Regions from separate parts of the Homo sapiens genome. Here region 1 is linked to region 2. The links are contacts of gene promoters, found by promoter capture Hi-C in blood cells and fetal thymus (Javierre and others, 2016). All regions are on one chromosome and are shown on one strand. Each heading gives the region's core, a stretch centred on a gene start or on the middle of the fragment in contact. The rest is flanking DNA. Distances are from core to core; before and after follow the strand shown. Region 1 holds the start of RND1 (Rho family GTPase 1). Region 2 holds the start of WNT10B (Wnt family member 10B).

The links. The method cuts DNA at HindIII sites, captures the fragments that hold promoters and counts their contacts. A CHiCAGO score of 5 or more calls a contact.
Region 1: the fragment with the promoter of RND1 here is called in contact with the fragment with the promoter of WNT10B in region 2 in 8 of 17 cell types (activated CD4 T cells, M0 macrophages, erythroblasts and 5 more); the score reaches 8.5 in activated CD4 T cells.

What each region holds. Positions count from the first base shown.
Region 1 is chr12:48,862,674-48,867,343 of GRCh38, forward strand. It overlaps RND1 (Rho family GTPase 1), which reads right to left and starts at 3,197. Exons shown (of 5, transcript NM_014470.4): 1 at 2,975-3,197; 2 at 2,110-2,197. The coding sequence starts at 3,094. RefSeq lists enhancers at 3,011-3,130, 3,391-3,520. The HindIII fragment of the contact is 16,374 bases long and covers 1-4,670 here.
Region 2 is chr12:48,969,147-48,973,951 of GRCh38, forward strand. It overlaps WNT10B (Wnt family member 10B), which reads right to left and starts at 2,589. Exons shown (of 5, transcript NM_003394.4): 1 at 2,309-2,589; 2 at 1,310-1,423; 3 at 943-1,205. The coding sequence starts at 1,383. RefSeq lists silencers at 813-892, 2,360-2,654. The HindIII fragment of the contact is 10,147 bases long and covers 628-4,805 here.

The sequences.
Region 1 (4,670 bases), core at 1,947-4,446, 110 kb before region 2:
GCAAAAGGAAAGCTGTACCTCCTGACCGCCCCACATCTCAGGAAGGCAGTCTCAAAGACAGCAGCACCGATGGCTGGGGATTTAGAGGCTAGAGCAAGAGTCCTTCGTTGGAAGGGAAATAGGCAATGCAGACCCAGGTGGTCCCATATGGGAGAATGCTAGGAGCTGAGCCTGCCCCCTCCACCCTGGGGAAGGAGCAGTAGCGGATTTGGAACCCAGACAATCCGTGCTCAGAATAGCAAGCAGCCCCTCTCCCTGCACCACAATCGCCATGGAAACTGGGGGGAATCCAAGCTGGTGGGGGGATGTTGGTCATTAAAAAAAGGAATACAGGGGAGTTGGGATAGCTGCCTGCTCCTTCAGCAAGCCTCCTCCATCCCTTTCTGAGGTGGGGTCTTACCACTGCAGCACTGAGGAGCGGAAGCACTGCAGCACTGGGGAAGGGGGAGGGGAGGAGGCCTCCATTTTGGCTCCAAGCAATCCCCCTCCCCTAAGACTAGCAAGTAAATAATGGGAACAGGGTCAACCCTGAGCCCAACATTGGGAAACCCTATCCCACACACCATGGCCACTTCCTCCTTCCTTATGGGAACCTAATCTGAAAGAGGGAGTTTGAGAATAACTGACAGCCTTTATCCTTTCGGAAATTGGGGGTGGGGGTGTGACACAGGGAACAGAGACTACACTTGCTGATTTTCCATGATCTGGTTTGGGATTTGAGGGCTGCATTCTGACTGTCAAAGGAGGGAGGAGGTGGGGGGAGGGCGTTTGGGCGGTGGTAGTGAAAAGAGATGAGCTGCAGTAAGATTCTGGGAAGATTGGAAGGTGGGAGGGTACAGCAGATGAAAAACCAAAAATTATACATCATGCCATCAAGCTGCATTCTAGCCCAATCTTGCCAGCATAGCACAGCCCAGGAGAACCAGAACGCTGCCTCCCAAGCCCTGAAACTGCAACAGGGAAAAGCATACCAGATTGGGGAATTTTTGTTTGGGGAGGAAAGGCTCATTGTCTGTCTAACCATTCCCTAGCCCCAATCTTTTCAGACCTCAGAATTAGAGCATGGGAACAACAGCTGTTGAAGGAGCAGGACAGCATATTTATTATATGTAGCAGGAAACACCTAGTGATTTACGGTCCCTTTTTAAACTCAGCCTGAATATGCATTTTTGGGGAGGGGTGGATTTTATTTTCTTTCTCTTATTCCCGGCTTTTACTCCTTAATTATGACTCTGAGCCAGTCTATTGAAAAAGGTCTGGGGTAAAGAGATAATGGGAAGGGGTCAGAATCAAGGCAAAGGATAGCCTAGCACTAAGGGCTTGGGGCTGAGAGGCTGGAAAAACATTGTTTCTACATTCTAGAGAGACAGGGCATATTCTACCTCACCCCAGTAGAGGGAAAACAGTCAGAGCCAACCTCCCCTCTGCCCTGCCGGCCACTATTCACAACTGACTATGCCCTATATTAAGCCATCTCCCCCAACTTCCAAAACATCGATGATGCATTGCTTCATCCCCGAGCTGCAGCGGTGTGACGAGTGGGGCTGAGCTGCGGCAGGAGGACAGCAGTGGCCCAAGATGGAATGCAGGAGACAAAACTGAGTCTGAGCAACCTTTCCCCAAAGCAGACTTGTCTCTCCGCCCCAACCACGCTGCCTCCAGCAGCACTGCCTCTTGCCTCTTATTTGGCTTTGCTCTGGGGAAGTAAAAGGTGTGTGTGTGTGTGTGTGTGTGTGTGTGTGTGCGCGCGCGCGCGTGTGTGTGCATGTGTGTACGCGTGCATGTTGGGTGGTAGGGAATGGAAATGGAGAAGTCCTGTTTTACTGCCCACCCCCAGGACTATTCATGGGTCCCTTCACCTCACCATCCCAGCCCTCTAAAGGGTGGAACCAGACCCAGGGAAGAGAGTGGCTCCTGGGGTTCACCCACTCTGCACCCTTGGACCATGCAACTGAGTCCACCAACTGTCAGCCCTCCCCACAACTAATGAGTCTTCAGATCCTCTTTTTTCACTTCTCCCCACCAAAGGGGAAAACAATTTCTAAAAGACAGCAGCTACACAGCAGACCAGTAGGGGTGGGAAAGGGGTATTTGGAGCAGAATTCTTACCTGAGGTATCCCAGAGACTAAGCTCCACCCTCTGTTCCTCTGTCTCCAAACAGGCTGTGTAATTTTCGAACACGGTGGGCACATAGGTCTGTGAAAAGAGAGGAAACATTCACCCCATGCACCCCTACCCTCAGATCCCCTGGTTAGTGCTGGCTACACACGCACTCACCAGAGAGACAGTAAAGTCACAGGAGACAAGAAACCAGAGGAGATGCCTGGGGCAGGAGGGAAGGGACTGTGGAGGACCAGGCACTTTGCTCTGCAGCAGTGAGAAATGTGAATGACACCCCCCCACACCACCACACCAGGGGTAAGCCCCCCATATCCTAGGCGATCAGGGACACACACACACACAGATTCCTCCCATCCCCAGATTTGTGTTTCCCAATTTGAGAGAGCCACAGGCCAAAGCCAATCCTAGCTCATCTCCTCTCAAACCCCTCCCGGCCAGGTGAACAGAGGGGCTGCAGAAGCCTGCCTGAAGGCACAGGCATAGAGCCTTTGAGGAGCAGGTGAGCGGATAGGCAGGGATTACGTCAAGAAGAAACCCCAGACTTTCAAATGCCTCCAGTGCCCTCACCTGAGAGCAGACTCCAGGGACGCAGGAAGGTGGAGGGGATCTGATGGGTCCTCTGGGTGAAGAGGTGAGGAGGAGCCAGCGGGGCGGCAGAAGTGGAACAGGTCTCAGGGGAAGCTAAGGCAGGGCAGTCCTCCAGCCAAAAAGCAGCTGAGGATGGTAAAGCCTCAGAAAGCGGCTGAGGATGGGCTGGGGCTGGGGGAGCCACGTCTCCTGAGCAGGTGGAAATCTACCCCAAGGCGGGCAGGCAGGGAGAAAAGCCGGCCAGCGGGCGGGCGGGCAGCTCACCTCTGGATAGCAATCCTTCGCTAACACTTGCAACATCGCGGTCTTCCCACACTGCACGTCCCCGACCAGAACGAGCTTACATCTGGCCACGACTGGCTGGGGGGCCCGTCTCTCCTTCATGGTTGCAGTGTCCGCGGGACTTGAACTTCGATTCAGAAGGGAGGGTTGCGCCAGGTGCGTCTCAGCACGCCAATCAAGCCAGATTCCCTGCCTCCCTCCAACTGAGGAGGAGGCCGGCACAGCCGCCTTTTATTTTTCTGGCTGAGCCAATCACAAGAGGAGGCGGACTCTGTTACGCCCAATCCCTGAGGTGGGATTCCCTCCAGCAGCCAATGGATCTGAGGATCTGAGTCAGCGCCCCCTTCCTCCCTTCTCTTTCTCTTAAAGCTGCACCGTTGTTTCCCCCTGAAAGGGGATTCCCAGGTTGTTTTGCATTTGTATTAGGAAGTGGAAAGGGTACTGGAAGCAAAATGAAATGATCTGGAGTGTCTACCAATAAGTGTCAGAAAAACAAACTAGCTATGGAAGCAGGAAGTGAGGTCAGGCTGGAGTTGCAGGGACTGTCCCGGGTGGGTTACAAAAGCAGGACCTGCTTAGACTATAGACAGGTGTGTGTGTGTGTGTGTGTTTTGGAGGAGTAGGGGATGGGGGAGGTGGCCCAGAACTTCTCTGACATTTTTTTTCTTTTTTTTCCTTACATCTTTTGTTTTAAATAGAGACAGGGGTCTCACCATGTTATCCAGGCTGGTCTTGAACTTCTGGGCTCAAGCAATCCGCCTGTCTCAGCCTCCCAAAGTGCTGGGACTACAGACATGAGCCACAGCGCCTGGCCTGATGTCTGACTTTTTTGTTTTTTCTAATTCCCATCCAAACCAGTTCTTACTTCCCTTTATTTCCCCTCCCAATATCAGCTCCTGCTGTACCTCTTTTATTTATTTATTTATTTATTTATTTATTTATTTATTTATTTATTTATTTATTTTGAGATGGAGTTTCGCTCTTGTTGCCCAGGCTGGAGTGCAATGGCACGATCTCAGCTCACTGCAACCTCCATCTCCCGGATTCAAGCGATTCTCCTGCCTCAGCCTCCCGAGTAGCTGGGATTACAGGCATGCACCACCATGCCCAGCTAATGTTGTATTTTTAGTAGAGACGGGGTTTCTCCATGTTGGTCAGGCTGGTCTCGAACTCCCGACCTCAGGCGATCCGCCCGCCTTGGCCTCCCAAAGTGCTGGGATTATAGGCGTCAGCCACCGTGCCCGGCCTGTGCCCCTTTTAAAGCCTTCTCTTCTTCAAGAATCACCTTCACCACCAAAGACAGAGAGAGAGAAAGAGAAAGAGAAAACTTTCTAGAGTCATCCATAAAAAAAACACACAGCACCTGACCCAGTGATGGGCAGAGAGAAATGAGGGACTCTGGCAAGTGGGGGTGGGAGAGAGGAAGAAGACAAAGCAAACACAGTCACTGTTTGGCCAGACAGCCTCTCACCCATGCCTAGCAGAAGCTGCTTAGGGGTGTTTGTTCTGCGGCCTAGGCTCAGCTTCCTGGATGAATCAGGCACAGGTCCAGTTCCATGTTAACGCCCACTGAAACTGACGCACTAATGTGTGTCACCTGGTTAAAGTCCAGACTGGGCCCAGGATTTTGGGATTAGAAGCTGGAGGACAATCTAAGGTTGAGATGAACTACATAAAT
Region 2 (4,805 bases), core at 1,339-3,838:
GTGGGGAAGGAGGGGGACCCTCACTTCATTTTAGGCAGGGGCTCTCCGGAGCCCTGAGAAGACGAGAGACAGCACCCGCTTAGAGACCAGGCCTCTGCTACCCCAGGATCTAGGGCTCCTGGGCCAGCCTTCTGATCCCCCTAACTCCAACCCTCCAGGGGTGAAGCTGTTTGCACAAGTCTTGGGAATTCCCCTGCAGATGGCAGCTGCCTATTAACCCCATAGTCCCCAGAGCACTGCCCCCATCTCTGGGCTGAGCCCCCATGGGTCTTTACACCTCAGGGAGTGAACTCCAGTGGGAAACCAGGAGAGGCAGCCATGCCTCCCAGACCAGGCCAGCAGTGACCTGTTCTCTGCCTCTCCAGCCGTTCTTCACCTGCTCAGGTGAGCAACACCTGGAGCCCCCACAGCACAGAGGAGGGGACTGGCTCCCCAGCTTCAAAGTCATCAGGGTCTTTGTTCCCAGCTTTGGCTCCTGGGAACCCCAGCAATTAGGGGAGCAGATTTAACCCTTAAACGGTTGGGGGCGTCACCCCACCCCCGCTGAGACACTGGGGACACCAGCCTGGGCTTGTCCAGCCAAGATGGGGGGAGAGAAAATGGTGGAGGGAATAGGGGGGCGTTTGAAGCTTCCAGGACTGGGGGCATCTCTTGTTCACAGGTGCAACCCAGATTAAGCTGAGCGGAGGCAGGAAAGGGGGGCCCTAGGGTAGGAGAGCAGGGACCCAGCTGCCTCGCTGGCAGCACGCAGGTGGAAGTTAGGCGCGCAGGGGCCCAGACGAGTGGCCAGACCTGGCTCAGAGCGGCTCCGGGGGGGGCGGGGAATTCCAGGAGAGGCCCCTCCCGGAGCCGCGAAACCATCCCTTCCCGCCTCCGCGCGCCTCGCCCTGCCGCCCACCCCCTAGCCTCCGCGGCAGCGCCGACCCGCCCAGCCAGGCTCACCGCGCTTGAGGATGGCGCTGTGGTGCGGCAGGCGGCCGCCGCCCTCAAGCGCGGAGCAGTTCCAGCGCTGGTCGCGCAGCTGGTGCTGACACTCGTGGACCGCGATGTGCAGACCCTGAAGCGCGGACGCCGTCACGTCGGGGTTGCGCAGGCACAGGCCTAGCTGCCGCTTGCTCAGGCCGGACAGCGTCAAGCACACGGTGTTGGCCGTCAGCGGCGGCTCGCCAGGCAACTTCAGGCCCAGAATCTCATTGCTTAGAGCCCTGGGAACCAAGAAGGCGTCTGGGGTCTGCGGTCCAGACCCCTCCAACTCTCCCCACCCCGGGTCGGTGTTTCTATGGCCTGGGAGACAAGGGGAACTGCTCACCGACTGCACAACGCCAGGAACAGGAGACCCGCGAGGCCCGAGGGCGGAGGCCGCGGCCGGGGCTCCTCCAGCATGTCGAAGCCCGGAGGCTCCGGTGGGCAGATCGATCAGGACCTGCGGGACGGGAGACTTGATGCGGGTTCAGGAATAGGGCGGCTCGCTTGGGGAACCAAGTGACGCCCTTCTTCGGGCTCCTAACCCACCGGTGCCACCCTACTGACCCTTCTCATTCCTCCTCAAACAAAACAAGAAGAAACACCCCTTGATTCCCAGAGTCCCTGAGGCTTGGAGGTCTTAAAGAAGAAGAGTCAAGGCGTTGTCCCAGCTCAGGACTCAAGCGAGCACCCCTGGAACCTTGCCCAATCAGACACAACGCCCGGCACACAGACACACACTCACTTGCAAACTCAGACACACAGACTCACAAACACTTGCTCCACAACCTCGCCTACTGCTCCCTTTTCCAGGGCCCCACGACTAGCTTCCCCGCCCTCACAGGGCTAGGGAGAGGGATAGGGAGGAGGTTCCCCACCACCTAAGGGGGTGTCACCTCCAGGTGTCATCAAGGGCAAGTAGGCTCCATGAGAAAGGTCTAAGAATGAGTTCCCCACTCACACTGCCCCCTCCCTGAGCAGCAAGGAAAGAGGAGAGGCTCCAGGTGCAGGAAAGATGGGGAGGAGAGCCTGGCTCCCTCCTAAAAGGGACCGTGGCACAGACTGAGTCCTCTTCCCTATCCCCCACCTTGCCTAACTACAAGCTCCCCTCCTCCATAGTCGCCCGTCTGGTCCTCACCCCTTGGCTCTCACATTCATTGCATTCTAAATCTGGGGGCACTCCTTTATTCTCTGTGTCTTTATCTCTAGCAATATCTCTGGCTCTCTATGCGTCTCTGTGCTTCTGTGGGTGGATGCGTGTCTGTCTGTCTGTCTGACTACACACGTGCCTGTCTCTTCCTCGTGTGCACGTCCCTGCCCTCCCTGCTTTCCCAGGTCTAATTACCTCCAGTGGTTTGGGTGCGGGGTCCGAGACAGGCACGGTTGGGTTGCCTGGGCTTCACTAGTGCTGCTTAAACCGTGGGGAGACTGCGCTGGGTTCTGTCCCCTTGTCAGAGCCGCATTCTTCCAGGGCCGGGCCACTCCTCTTCACCGCTTCCCCAGCGCCGCCGCGGCCGCCGGGAGGAAGGGAGGGAGGAAGGGAGGGAGTGATCGAGAGAGCTAGCAAGCCGGCGAGCAAAGGACTGGGGGCTCTGGCTTTGCTCTCACCGAGCTCAGGGTGGCTCTGCCGGGCTGACGGAGCTGCAGCCCCTCCCCGAGCCTGGGGCTTCCCCACCCTACCCTCCACTCCCAGCCTTGACCAGGCGAATGCAGCCTCCCCCTCCTCCCAGCGCGCGCGCGCGCGCGCGCGCGCGCACACACACACACACACACACACACACACACACACACTCTCTCTCTCTCACACACCCTCTCCCCCGACGCCTGGGTTCAGGCTTGGCCCCACTGAAGAAGGAGGTGGCCAGAGTTCCTCTCACCTGATCTGGGGTCGCCAAGGCTGCAGGGAGGGTGTAGTAACCTTCCTAGGGAGCCAGAATGGGGCCCAGATGGCCACATCTTTCATCACTCCTCTTTGCGTCAGTTTCTCCACCAAGATCAGGGTGGCTGGAAGGTGCCTTTGACAAGATGAGGATGGAGCCAGACAGTCTTTGGGCTTCTCGGTGTGGGACAGTCACATGTGGCACCCACAGCCTGAGCGCACCCGGGGTACTCAGAGCGGGCAGGAGAAGCACACGTCTGGGCAGCTTGGTTCCCACCCTCCTCCAAGCCCTGCGCCTGCCCCTTTGGAGGGGACAGCTTTGGCCTCAGAGTTTGGCCCTAGCAGAGGTTCAAGTAGCACCAAAGATTGTCAGCCTGCCCCGATGCTTCCTTGCCTGGCAGGGATGCTTGCCAACAGAGGTATCCTACCCTTCTCGGGATTCCCCCGGTCTGCACTTTGGGTGGCCTGGATTCCTGCTCCAAGCTGTAGACTTGCTTCTTATGGGATGAGGAGGGCCTTGGGATCCAAAATTGAGCCAAGCCCAAGGGCAGCCGGGAAAGAGCCTGGTCTTGGGGTGCACAGGCAAAGGCAAACCGCCTTAGGGAGACCCAGTGGCAGCGAACGGGTTAGGCGCCACCGTGCTCCCGCCTGACTCACCCTCGAAGCTCTAACCACTGTGGGCTATTTTTGCCAGAGAGGGGCCCCAGGCTTTCCAGCCGCCCCCCGCCCCTGCCAGACCGCAGCCCAAGGCACGGCTGGCCCCACGCGCCCCAGGCACATTGACTCAGACTGCCCCCAAGCAAGCAGAGGAACAGGGATGATACCCACAACCACAGTCACCTCTTCCTTGGTGGTGGCGTTGCAGCTCTGCTGGGCAGCCAGCCTCCAGTCTGTGCTGCTGGAGGTCCTGCCCGTGCTGCAGGGGTCACTGTTGGATAGCGGGCACAGCAGTCTGAGACAGGAGATCGAGCAAACTTACATCTGTTGGGATATTTACAGATCACCTTTACGTGCCAGGCTGTGAGCAGTCTGGGGAGGTGAAAGTGCCATGGTCCCTGACACTGGACAGCCTGGACCAGACTGCTTTTCTCTGATTCCCTACCTCTGGGATGGGGAAGTGGGAGCACTAGAGTTCCTGACCCTCCTTCCCATTTAGAGGACAAGAGCCAAACCATGTGTGGTTTTGGAGGTCACCAGAATCTGCAAGCCCCATCTCATAGTTTTCATCCTTACACCTGGATTCATGATCCCCACCAGTGTCCTTATCCTTTTTCTTGCAGTCACCCTGGGATTCCTGCCAGGTCCTTGGAAGAGGGGAATGAGGTTGCCTAAGCCTCTCTTCTCCATGGGGACCTCATGGACATTTGTATTTCTCCATGTGTCTCTGGGTCCCCCTTAGGTTTGGGATTATTTTTTGCCTTCTGATTCTACCCTTGTCAGGCTCCAGCATACAGCCAGGTGCCAAGAAGGGGCGAGGGGCAGAACTACTACAATAGGTTTCAACTTCCTGGTGACCCTAGGTCTCCCCAAGCAGGACTGTTCCAAATCCAAGGACCCAGAGTCCTGCTCCTTCTCTCTACTGAAGCCCAACTCTGGGACAAGAGGCCACAGGCCGGCAGACTGGGTGGCCTGAGCTGGCCCGCAGTGCCCTCAGCCCGACCGGCTGGCCTGAGCACTGACCCGCAGGCGGCTAGAGGGCGGTGGGACAGGCGGGGCCTGGAGAGGGCTGTGGGTGCACACCCATTGCCTAATACCCCAAGCACGCGGCCAGCTCCAAGAAAGGGGAGGGACGGGAACCAGAGAGACCTTGACGTGGGTCAGGGCCAATGACAGGAGGGGGAAAGTGGGGGGCTTTCATCACTGCAGGGAGGGACTAGGAGCAAGCTGGTTCCCCTTCCCCTCAATGAGAAGAGTGGAGGGCTGCCCTTCCCATCCTAGGGATGGAGGGTGTAACGAGAGCAAT